Linked DNA regions of Homo sapiens: region 2 is linked to region 1. The links are contacts of gene promoters, found by promoter capture Hi-C in human tissues and cell types (Jung and others, 2019). All regions are on one chromosome and are shown on one strand. Each heading gives the region's core, a stretch centred on a gene start or on the middle of the fragment in contact. The rest is flanking DNA. Distances are from core to core; before and after follow the strand shown. Region 1 holds the start of C11orf21 (chromosome 11 open reading frame 21). Region 2 has its middle 25 kb from the start of ASCL2.

Region 1 (4,888 bases), core at 2,389-4,888:
GGCTTCTGCATATGTGGCCTCAAGCCCAGCACCATGGCACCCCCTGGTGGACGGTACTGCAGCCCCAGCGCTGGTTCTTTCTGGGCCTCCAGCTCTGACCTGGACCCCTTGGCCTGGCCCTGTTGCCAACCTTTTCTTCCATCCAGGTGTCCCTTTGCAGGCCACACACCCTCTGGGGGGGGGGGCAGACTACCTGCCTTGTCATCTCCCCACTGGGGCCTCCCACCTGGCCCTGAAGCCAGATAGCACAGGCCGGGGTTGTCCCTGCCCATGCTCGTGTGCCCCGGAGCAGGAATCCTGGCTAGTGCTGGAGCTGCTGGGTCCTCCTCTGCCCACCATGGGCCCACCCAGGGCTGGTTGGCCCGGCAGCAGCTCCAGGAGGTGACTCTATTCCTATTCTTGGAGACATTTATAAACCAGGGTCATTAAACAAGCATTTGCTGAACTTGAAGGCTGAGCTGAAAACCCTGCCAGCCCTGGGGACCCAGGAGGCTCTGCCCTCAGGGACCCCCAGAGTGGTCCAGCTTCACAGGCTAAACAGGGAAGCAAAGCCCCCAGCACAAGCTCCTCATGGCTGGAAAGGGGAGACGGGAGGCTAGAGGGACAGGTGGGAGCCCGGGGCGCCAGGGAGGAGCTGCCCCAGCTGGGGTGAGAGAAGAGGGCTGTGGGCCTAGCAGGGGCAGGACAGGCGTGGGGAGGCTGCCGCCAGGTGGGGTCTGCGATGACCATCGAGTGGCAGGGACCAAGACAGAAGCCCATGGGGAGGAGTAGGAATGAGGGTGACAAGAGGCCACTGCTATGGGGTGGGGTGGAGGGGCCTATGGGACCTCGGGGCTGGGGAGACACCTCCGGCAGCTGGGAAGGAGAGTGTGCAGCTCCGGAGAGCCCAGGCTGGAGAGCTCAAGGGGCGTTTCCTGAGCCTGGCCCGGCCTCCTCCGAACAGGAAATGGGATGCTCCCAGTGCCCTCCCAGAGCTTGCTGGGCAATAGAACCAGACCCTCCCAGGGACTTTGGAAACAGCTCCCAGGGTCAGGAGGGCCGTCTCTCTCTTTCAGAGCTCCTATAGGAACCCTTGTTGGGCGTGTAGATGACAGGGTGAGGTAGGGCCTGGTGGAGGGGCCTTGGCTACCCAGGTAGGGGGTCTCGGCTGGCTAGCATCCCTGGGGCCTCTGTTTCTGCCTAGATACTCAGGTGTGGGGTTGACGTGGGGGTCTCGGCTGGCCAGCATCCCTGGGGCCTCTGGTTCTGCCTGGTCACTCAGGTGTGGGGGTGGCACACAGCCCTGCCAGCTCTTCACTCCTTTCTAATTCTTTTCTGGGGGCCTGGGCATCTGGGAACACAATGAACTCACCCCTGCCATGAGGCCCTGGGCCTCCCTCACGGTGGCTGCAGCGCTCAGCACGGCTCCCAGAGTCAGGAGGCCCACCAGGCTCAACCCCGCAGAGAAGGCTGGTTGGGAGGAGAGAGGAGGAGGGTTAGGGGTGCCCAGGACAGGTCCTGAGTGCACACAGCCTGGGTGTGAAATCTAACTTGGGAGTCAGGGGCCGTGAGGGACTCCTGGGGGGCTCTGAATGGGCCTGTCTCTCCATCAGACGGCCCTGAGGGAAGGAGGAGGGAGGTGGGACTCGTTCAGCCTGGGGGACTGCCCCTCCTTCCCTCTTTTCCTCCCTGCCCTCCATGCCTGTGGGGCTATCTTGGAAGCCACATGCTCCCTGCCATGCCCTAGTGACAAGTGGCCGGACTGGAGCTGTAATCTTATCAGTCTGGACCTGGACCTGGGCCCCAGGCATCCTCCTGCCATGTCCTAGTGACAAGTGGCCGGACTGGAGCTGTAATCTTATCAGTCCGGACCTGGACCTGGGCCCCAGGCGTCCTCCTCCAGGGAGGCCCTGGTCCTAGGACTTGGGGAAAAGCATTGGGTTCTAAGGCAGTATCCCTGACCTCCTGGGCCTCAGTTTCCCTACATCTGCCCACCGGGCTGCAGCCTTCCTGGGCCCCCTGAGCTCCTGCCTGAGAGTCCCCTGCAGATCTGGCTCTGACATCCCCTCATTAAAGGGGCCTTCCTCAGCCTTACCCCTGAGTGGCCCCAGCAGGCTCTGGCCCTCGCTCCCGCTCTCTGGATGTTGGATAAGTCGCTGCTGAGTCCCTGCAGGGAGGCGTCTGGCTAGAGCAGCCCCCACCCCCTCCCCACCCACATCCCAGGTCCTGAGTGGAACATCAGCCATGTGGAGCCCTCATGGACCTGCTGTGCCCAGCCCCAGGCCAGTCCCAGGCCTGCCTGGGACTGAGCCCTGACTGCACAGAGCCAGGTCCTGACCGCACAGAGCCACTTCCTGACCCTGCCCGACATATACCCACACTGTGCCCACGCTCCTGTGGGGCACGAGAACCAGGCAGGAACACTGGCTGTCACCCAGACCCGAGGCCCTGCCCAGGGGAGCTAGGACTCCAGGGCAGCCCCTCCCTGCCCCTGACCACCTCTGGCTCCTGCCTAGGGCCTGGCACCATTCTGGCTGTGAGGCGTCCAGCTGGGCTCGTGCCAGCCACCCTTGCACCCGAGGCCCCTCCCGATGCAGCCAGGCCTGGACCTCACTTACCCCATTGGTGCACAGCCTGGTACGGGTTCTTCTCCAGGGACGCTCGGCGGATGACAGCAAAGTGGGCCCCGAAGTAGGTAAGAGTCACCATGGTGGCCACAGAGAGGCCCAGCAGCTGTGGATAGGGCAGACTCAGAGTGTGGGGCATGGGACTGCTGCAGGAGCAGGGAGCTCGGCCCCAGCGGGCAGGGTTGGGGCTCTCTCCAGCTTCCCGGTCCCGTGAGAGACAGGCTCAGCTGCAGGGATTCCCGGTGTTTCCGTGGAGTGGTCTCAGGAGGCCTTCACTGCAGACGCCCCAGCACACTCACAGGCACCCCCACATGGTAGACGCATACACGCACAGCCCAGCTTCCCCAGACACCCAGGACCTCTGATCATTGTGTCTACGGAGTGGGAGTGAGCCCCACCCCTGTGCCAGCACCCTCCGGGGCAGGAAGGGGAGAAGATCCCTGGAGCCCGGCAGCCAGTGCCCCTCCACCCCAGCTCGCCCCAGGCCTCAGCCCCACTCAGGCCTCCTCCAGGCTCTGTGCTGCCCCTCAGGAGGAGAGACGGGGTTGCTCATGGTGGTCCCTGCCTGCCTGCGGCTGTCTGCAAGGGCAGGACACATGTCTGCAAGGGCAGGACAGGGACAGTAGGGCTGGTGTGTGTGTCAGGGGAGGGATAATCCCTGTGCTGAGGCCCTGCCACCCCTCACCCCTGCTCACCCCCACCCACCACCCACTCCTGCCCGACCTGCCTGTTACCAAGATAAAGAAGCAGGTGACCAGCATCTGGCATTTGGCAACCCTGACTCGACTCCAAGGCCCCATGACGGTTCCTCTCCTCTCCTCTCCTCCCCTCCCTTCCCCTCCCTGTGGTTTCCAGCTGGGCAGGGGCCTCAGACCGCAGCTCACTGCCCAGGAGGTAGGCTGCATCCGCCCCTCTGTCTGTCTGTCAACATCGCCCTAGGACCGAGCTGCTGGGTGCCCCGGAAGAAGGGCAGGCAGGAAGGGGAGGGGCAGTGAGGTTGGCTCCCCCCACCACCTCACCCTGGTGCCCCCAGCCCAGCCCAAGACACCAGGGCATTTGCTGACATCTGAGGCCCTTCCCAGGAAGACATGGCCTCGTTCTTGGTGTGGCCACTGAGGACGGCGCTGAGAGGGGGAAAGTCATGGGCAGGACCTGGTGTGGGATGTGGAGGAGACGGCGCCCGGGGAGGAGGAGGTGAGCTCCCCGTCCTGGGAGTGAGCAAGTGTGGACTGGGCCTTGGGGGCGTAATCCTTGGAGGAATTTGGATGGGGTCTCCTTGGAACATCATTATTGAGGTGTTCTTAGGAAACACCCTTTGAAATGTCCTGTGACAGCTTAAGTTTTGAGAAGGTCGTTGGTTTTAATGCCTTCGTGGGCGGCACTCATGGATATTTTGTCGCAGAGCCTTCTTGGGGCCACAGGGGTGGGCTGGGGCCTCGCTCACACTCACGTGGGGCCTCCAGGGGGAGGCTTTGTAAACCTCGAATTTGCAATTACACCGAGCCGTGTAATTACGTATGGGTGGGGGCAGCGCTGCGGCCCCAGTACAGGCAGGGTTTCCGTGGGCCTCTGGGGCAGGGTGGGCCTGAAGAGGGTGAAAATGTTCCAGGTGAATCCATCATTCAGGGACCACTCCGGGCCCTCCCAGGAGTGCTAACAGGCGGCTCTGCTCGCCCCTCGGTGCTGGAATTGCTCCTCCTGCATTTGGTCAGGACCTCATCAAGGGGGAGGGGGCCCCAAGACCTGCAGGCATGGCAACCCCAGCGTGGCTGTGGGAAGAGGGCCCAGCTGCCGCCCGCTCAGGAACGCTGCTGGAGGAACTGCTGAGGCCACCGCCTCCCTCCCTCTGCGGAGGGAGAACCAGGAGAACCAGGAGGGACAACCAGGACCCCCGTCCAGCCCAGCACCCCCAGGCAGCACCCTCTGCAGCTCTGGCCCCCAGGAATTCCCACCCTGAGTCTGTGGGGGCTTGTGGAGACCTCAGATGCCTGGCACCCACAGTGTCACTTCAGCTGGGGGCCTAGGTGTGGCTCAGACTGGGGCGCAGGTATGAATGTAGGGGTGGCAACAAGAGTGAAGGTACCAGGTCTAGGGGCAGGAGGCCCCCGGGCTGTGCAAGTGGGCAGCCCGTCCTCTCCAGGGAAGATGAGCTGCTCTTGGCTATGTCTGGTTCGCCCCTAGAATTGTCTCTCTCCAACCTTGACCTCCCTGGAGCTGGTGAGGCGGGCCTGGAGCACCACCCGCTTCTGGGACACCTCTTCATCAGGTCTGAAGAATTTCGG
Region 2 (7,742 bases), core at 3,951-6,450, 57 kb after region 1:
CCAGCCCCACCTACCCCCACACAAAGAACACCAAGAGCTTAGCCAGCCCAGCCTGCCGGTTTGCCCACCTGGGGGCTGTGCTGGGGCCATGTCCTGGTCTCCTTTTCCAGCCTGGTGGGAGGATAGTGCCAGGGTCCAAGGTGAACCTTGCAGTTGTCGTCACACCGGGGTCCCTGTCCACCAGAACCTACCCCCTCGTGCTCTCGAAGCTCAAGCGCTGGCATCTCAGGGCACACTCCCTAGAAACAGAGCCTGGGCTGGAATTCTTGTGCAGGAGATACAGATAAGCCAGGAGGCAGGGCTTCAGCATGGTCTCCCAGGACTGGAAGCAAGAGGCTGCCTTCTGTTCCTCCTTGTCAGTCATTTGCTGTGTGTCCCCCAGGGCACACACGTCCCGGATGTGGGGCTTCCCTTTAGCTAAACAGCTCTTCATTGAGCCATTAGTTGTCAACACTTAACAGCTGGGGGATAGGCACACGGTCCAGATAAAAGGAGTTGGGGAGGACACCAGTAGCACCCATGACCCAACACGCCTTACTCCACCCCCACCCCCCGCACAGCCCACCTGTGTAGGAGGTTTGCTCCCCTGAGGAGAGCTTCTCCAGGATCAAATTGGTCCCAACACCAGGGGAAATTGACACTAACAGGCTGAGTGGGATGAACGCCAGTGCCTACTCCTGCCATTGCCATTGCCATTTTCATTGCCTGGGGCCCTGACTGATAGCCACCGCCCCTTCCTCCTCCATCCGTGTCAGATAGCCGGGACCTTGAGCAGCCTGTGGTCACCATGGCCTTATCATGCTCACACTGTGGCGCTTGCTACTTGCGGGAAGATCTGTGCATGGCAGCACCAAGAGATGCCCCTGGTGGGTCACCTGCCCGCCCCCATTGATGACTGTATTCATACCTTCTCATGATGCTCCCAGCCAGTTACCCCTGCCAGTATGGGAACTTCATTCTCTCTGCCAGATTGTTGATACCAGGAGCCCGAAGTGACCAGGTGGAAGCTGTCTTAATAGCGTCTTCCGGTGGAAGCGTCCCGCTCTGGGAATGGCCCTGTAGAGCCTAAAACTGCTAGAAATAGAACCACTGATTTGGTTCGCTTCTCTCCCTACAAGTGCACGACCAGGTCCTGCACTCAAAGCTCGGCCCCCTGGGAGGGTTACCCCATCGCCACCATCACCACCACCTGAGTGGGCTGCAGTGCAGGAGCAGTCCTTTGGGGGCTCACTAACGTTTCTAGCTAACCTGCCAATGAGTGAAGCTCAGGCCCCTTCCTTCTCCATCGGCTGGTCAGAGGGACCTCTGCAGGAGGCCACAGGTGTGGACTGAAGAAGAGGTGTCAGTGCAACACTGGTAGATGACGTGGGGGTTCCGATCCCCGGATTATGTCGCTTTCTTTTGCCCTCTGCTTGTTCGCAGTCCCAGGAGGTGTCTTTTCCCATGTATACTGGATGCTGCTGGGCTTGCCTGACCTTCTGATTTGGTGGGTTTAACAGATCCTAGCTCAAGATGGGCATCTCTGACCACATGGTCACTTAACGTCCATGACCAGAAACTCTTTCTCTAGAGGTTCCCACAGGAGAGCAGGAACCTCTTTCTGAATGGTATCGTTCTCTGCACGGCCTTCTTCCAGAGCCCAAGGAGTCTGGGCCATGACTCTTCTTTGAAGTTCTCCAGGGGCTCTGTGTGTGTGGTGTCTTTCTCCATTGCAAATACCTCTTGTACCATGGGATTTGCCAGATTTTATGGCAATAACTTCATGGTAATAAGATCATGATGTAGCAGGCCTCTAAAGCTTCGTGGAATTTATCTCCCAGCCTGGCTCGTGTGCCTTACTTGGGGCGTCCAGAGTACTTTCCCCTGCTTGCTCGTCAGATCCAGTTAACAGACTGCCATCAGTATAGTGAACTAACGTGATAATCTGTGGAATGTCCAGAGGGCCTTTTCCCTTTGGACTATACTGTGACAAAGAGCAGAAGAATTAACATATCCCTGGGGCAAAACTGTGACTGTGTACTGTTGTCCCTCCTGTGCGAATGCAAATTGCTTCTCACACTCTCTCCTGATGAGATGGAAGAGAATTCATTCACAGAATCCGTAGCTACTGATACCGGGTACCAGGGGCAGTGTTAATTTAATCTTAGATTAAATGAATCTAATTTAATCTAAGATTAAACGAAGATACCACATCTGGCCTGGCAGCCCATTTGGTGTTGCTACTTGGTTGAGTTTGAGGTCTGCAATCATCTATTCTGATTCAGCCAGTCTGCAGAGAGGCCAGAGAGGGGAAATCACGAGAGAGATGGTGGGGGTTACTACCTAGGCCTTCTTTAACTCTTTGAAGGTGGCATCAATCTCAGCCATTTCCCCTGGGAAGTTATAGGTTTATTGGGGGCTAACTGACATACAATAAACTACACATATTTAAAATATAGAGGTTTTTTTTTGTTTTTTTTTTTTTTTTTTTTTTTTTTTTTTTTTAGATAGGTCTCTCTCTGTTGCCCAGGCTAGAGTGCAGTGGTGCAATCTCGGCTCAATGCAACCTCTGCATCTAGGGTTCAAGCAATTATCCTGCCTCAGCCTCCTGAGTAGCTGGGACTATAGGTGCGTGCCACCACGCCCGGCTAAGTTTTTTGTATTTTTAATAGAGATGAGGTTTCACCACGTTGGCCAGGCAGGTCTGGAACCCCTGACCTCAGGTGATCCACCTGCCTCAGCCTCCCAAAGTGCTGGGATTACAGGCGTGAGCTACCACACTGGGCCAAAATGCAGAGTTTTATGAATTTTGACATATGTGTACAACAGTGAGACCATCATCACCGTCAACAATTTCTTGTAAGTTTTAAATTCGTAATTAAATTACAACTGTGTAATCCCTTCCTCCCACCCCTCCTCCCCAGCCTTAGGTAACCACTGATCCGCCTTCTATCAGGTATTCTTTGCATTCTACGGTGTTATGTCAATGGACACATACAGGATGTATTCTTTTGTCTGGCTTATCTCATGCCATATACTTATTTTGAGATTCATTGATATTGTTGCAGGTATCAATCGTTCATTTATTTTTATTGATAAATAACATGAATGGGTATATTTGCTTATACCTTCACTTGTTAGGCGTCACTTGGATTGTTTCTGGTTTGGGCTATCTATGATCCAATGCTATAAACATTCATGAACAAGTCTTTGTGGAGACAAATGCTTTCATTTTTCTTGAATAAATACCTAGGAGTGGAATGGATGGATCATATGGCCGGCCGGTGTGTGTTTCACCTTTTAAGAATCTACCAAATCATTTTTTAAAGGGGTTGTACCATTAATCTTCCCACTCACAGTGCATGAGAATTACAGTTTCTCCTACCTTTGCCAAAAGTTGGTATGATCAGTTTTAAAGCAAGAAAATTTAACCATTCTAATAGGTGTGTAGCGATATCTCATTACGATTTTTAATTTTCATTTTCCTAATGATTAATGATGTTGAGCATGTTTTCATGACCTTATTTATTATCCATATATCTTCTTTGGTCAAGTGTGTAGGAGATATCTGTATATCTTTTTTGCTCATTTTTATAGGGTTGTTTTCTTACTATTCATTTTTGAAAATACACAGAGAATATGCAATGAATATTCTGGATATAAGTCCTTCATCGTAATATGATTTGTGAATATTTCCTATCAGCTGATGGCTTGCTTTCTTTATTCTCTTATGACTGCCTTTCAAAAGAGTGGAATTTTTAAATTTTGATGACATTCCATTTAGCCACCTTTCTTTTATGAATTGTGCCTTTGCCGTCATATCCTTTCTGTGACTAATCTAAGGTCACAAAGATTTTCCACCATGTTTTCATCTAACAGTTTCACAGTTTTACATTTATATTAGGTTACTAATTCATTTTACATTAATGAATTTGAATACAGCTTGAGGAATTGGTCAAAGTTATTTTGTCTTTTTGCAGGTGGATATCCAATTGTTCCAGCATCATTGGTTGAAAAGATACAATTTCTCTATTAAACTGACTTTGCACCTTTGTCAAACTAGCTGTCCTCATGTGTGAGTCTATTTCTTGGCTATCTGATCTGTTCCACTGATTTACTTCTCTATCATTATGCCAGTAGAACACTGTCTTAATTATTATAATTTTATAACCTTGAAATCAGATACAGTAAGTCCTCTAAGTATGTTGTTCTGTTTCAAAGATGTTTTGGTTACTGTAGGTCCTTTGGATTTCCATAGGAATTTTAAAATCAGTTTGTCAGTTTCTACAGAAAGCTTGCTGGGGTGCTGATTGAGATTACGTTGAATCTATAGATGAATTTGTCAGAAACTGACATCCTGATAATAATTCTGAGTCTTTCAATCTAGGACTCAGTATATTTCTTTATTTATTTGGGTATTACTTGTTTTTTCTCAGGAATGTTTTATAGTTTTCAGTACACCAGACTTGTACATATTTTTTTAGATTTCTCTCGCAGTATTTTGCATTTTTATGCTAGTAAAATTTCAATGTCTGATTGTTCTTTGTGTGTTTCATGTAGATTCTGTTTGACCATCTACATAGGCAATCATTTCTTGTATAAATTAAGACAGTTTTTCTTCTTCCATTCCAATCTGGGTGTATTTGTTTCTTTTTATTTTCTTATTACACTGGGTAGAGCAGATATCTTCACCTTGTTTCCCATCTCAGGAAGAAAGCTTTCAATCGTTTACCATTAAATATGTTAGCTGTAAGTTTTTCATAGATACTCCTTATCAGGTTGAAGAAATTCCCTTTTATTCCTAATTTGCTGAGAGTTTTTATCAGGAAAGGATATTGTATATTGTTTGTTAGATACTTTTTCTTAGCATTGCGGTGGTTGATTTTATGTATCAAATTGGTTGGACTACTGTGCCTAGATGTCTGGTCAAATATTATTCTAGATGCTTCAGCTAAGGTAACTTTTGGATGAGATTAATGTTAAATTGGTGAACTCCGAGTAGGGCAGATTAACCTCCACAATGTGCAGGGTCCTTGTCTTAGTTCATTTTGTGTTGCTATAAAGAAATACCTGAGACTGGAGATCTATACAGAAAAAAGATTTATTTGGCTCATGATTCTTATGGCCGAAAATTTCAAGATTGGGCATCTGCATCATGGTGAGAGAGAAAGCAAGAGCGAGCAAAGAAGGGGAGATGCCAGGCTCTTTTAATAAACAGCAACCAGTAAAGAACTGACTCATCCTTGAGGGAGGATCTATTCAGGAGGGATCTGGCCTCATCACCAAAACACCTCCCATTAGGCCTCACCTCTAACATCGGGGATCAAGCTTCAGTATGAAGTTTGGAGGGGACAAACATCTAAACCAGGGGTGTCCAATCTTTTGGCTTTCCTGGGCCACACTGGGAAAAGAAGAATTGTCTTGGGCTACACATAAAATATACTAACACGAATGATAGCTGATGAGCTAAAAAAAATTTTGCAAAAAAGTCTCATGTTTTAAGAAAGTTTACTAATTTGTGTTGGGCTGCATTGAAAGCAGTGCCTGGCTGCATGTGGCCCATGGGCCACAGGTTGGACAAGCTTGAACCATAGTCCTCATCTAAGCAGTTGACGAAGGCCTTAACAAAACAAAGATTGACTTTCTCTAAGCCAGAAGGAATTCTGCCAGCAGACTGCTTTTGGATTTGGGCTGCAGCTTTTTCCTGGGGCTCCAGTCTGCCACTTACCCTGCCGATTTTGGATTTTCTCTCTCTTTTTCTCTCTCTCTGTGTGTCTCTCTCTCTCCACACACACACACACACACACACACACACACGCACACACCCCTGTTGGTTCTGTTTCTCTGGAGAACCCTAACCAGTGCACATATGTATATTGATAATAATATGCTTTTCCTTTTCTAGTTTCATTAATATGAAAATTTATATTGATTGATTTTTGAGTGTTAAACCAACCTTGTATTCTGAAACCACACTTGATCATGAGATATTATCCTTTTTACATATTTTCAGGCTTGATTTGATAAAATTTTGTTTAGAATTCTTGCATCTATTTTTATGACAGGTTTTAGCCTTAGTTTTCTCTTCTTGTAATGTCTTTGCCTACTTTTGGTATCAGGGTAATAATCCTGGTCTCATAGAAATGGTGAAGGAGTATTCCCTCTTCTTTAATTTTTAGAAAGAGTGTTTCTAGAATTGGTATCCTTTTTCTTTAAATGTTTGGTAAAATTTACCAGTGATGCTGTGATGTTTTCTTTGTGAATAGAATTTTTACTAGAAATTTAATTTGTGTTTGTGAGTGTATTTAGGTTATCTATTTTTTCTTGTATGAGTTTTGGTAATTTCAGTCTTTCATTGAATTTGTTCATTTTGTTTAAGATGTCAATTTATCAGAATAAAGTTATTTGTAATAGCCCGTATTATCCTTTGGATATCTGTAGAATCTGTAAATGATGTCATCTCTCTTACTTCCTAATACTGGCAGTTTCTGTCTTTTTTTTCCTGATTAATCTTGGTAGAAGTTCAGCAATTTGATTGATTTTCTCAAAAAGAATCCATTTTTGGTTTATTGATTTTTTTCTCATTTTTCCCTGTGCTTTGTTTCCTTGATTTACTTCTCGATTTTTATTGTTTCCTTCTTTCTGTTAACTTTGAATTTAATTTTGAATTGTAATTCAATTTCTTTTTGGTCAGAGAGCATACTTTGTGTTGCTTGAATCCTTTTGAAATTACTGAGACTTGTTTTATGGCCCATAGTAAGATCTGTCTCAGTAAATGCTCCTTGTGCACTTGAGAAGATTATGTATTGTGTTGTTATCAGGTGGAGCGTCCTATTAGTGTCAGCTAAATCAAGTTGATTGTTTTGTTCAAGTCTCTTATATCCTTACCAATTCTCTGTCTACTTGTTCTATTATTGAAAGAGGAATATTGAATTTCCTGTTATAATGTGAATTTGTCTATTTCTCCTAGTAATTTGGTCAGTTTTCTGCTTTATTTGTTTTAAGGCTCTGTTACTGGGTGTATAAACATTTTGATTACTAAATCCTCTTGATGGACTGACTCTTATATCATTATGAAATGACCTTTTTTGTCCCAGTAATATTCTTTGCTTTTAAATCTGCTTCCCTTATATTACCATAGCTATTCTGGCTTTGATTGGTGCTAGTTTTGCTTATGCTTTTTAAAATTCTTTTACTTCTAACCTACTTATGTCTTTATAATTAAAGTGTATTTTTGGTAGGCAGCATATATATATTTATGGGTCTTGCTTTTTCTATGCAACCCAACAATCTATGTATATTAATGAAGGTGTTTAGATCATTTATATTTAATGTAATTGTTGATATAATTGGAATTAAGTCCATTATTTTGTAATTTGTTTTATATTTGCTTCATCTGTTTTTTTCTTCAGATTGAGTATTTTTCATGATATCATTTTCTTTCCTTTGTTGGCTTATGATCTATAGCCATTTGTTTCATTATTTTAGTGGTTGCTTTAGGATTTCTAATGCATATATTTATCTTATCAGTCTTTCTTCAAGTGATATTTGACCACATCATACATAGCATAAAAACTTTACAATAGTATATTTCCATTTCTTCCCTCCTCACTTTTATGCTATTATTGTCCTGCATTTTACTTGCATATTATAAACCTCACACTATATTGTTTCTCATTATTAAGTTAATATTTAAATAAATTTTTTATTTTAGAATAGTTTTAGCTTTTCAGAAAATGTGTAAAGTTAGTACAGAGAGTTCC

Evidence for each region. Contacts are between HindIII fragments. The study calls those that stand out against the background at their distance.
Region 2: a contact is called between a fragment that was not itself captured here and the fragment with the promoter of C11orf21 in region 1, in 2 of the 25 tissues and cell types used here (pancreas and thymus).

Annotation. Positions count from the first base shown.
Region 1 is chr11:2,300,668-2,305,555 of GRCh38, reverse strand. C11orf21 (chromosome 11 open reading frame 21) reads left to right here and starts at 3,638. Exons shown (of 4, transcript NM_001329958.2): 1 at 3,638-3,800. The coding sequence starts at 3,748. It overlaps TSPAN32 (tetraspanin 32), which reads right to left and starts at 3,543. Exons shown (of 10, transcript NM_139022.3): 1 at 3,341-3,543; 2 at 2,598-2,712; 3 at 1,352-1,449. The coding sequence starts at 3,406. The HindIII fragment of the contact is 20,485 bases long and covers 1-4,888 here.
Region 2 is chr11:2,241,987-2,249,728 of GRCh38, reverse strand. No RefSeq gene overlaps it. Among named protein-coding and RNA genes, the nearest start is that of ASCL2, 25 kb to the left of the region's middle. The HindIII fragment of the contact is 4,327 bases long and covers 3,037-7,363 here.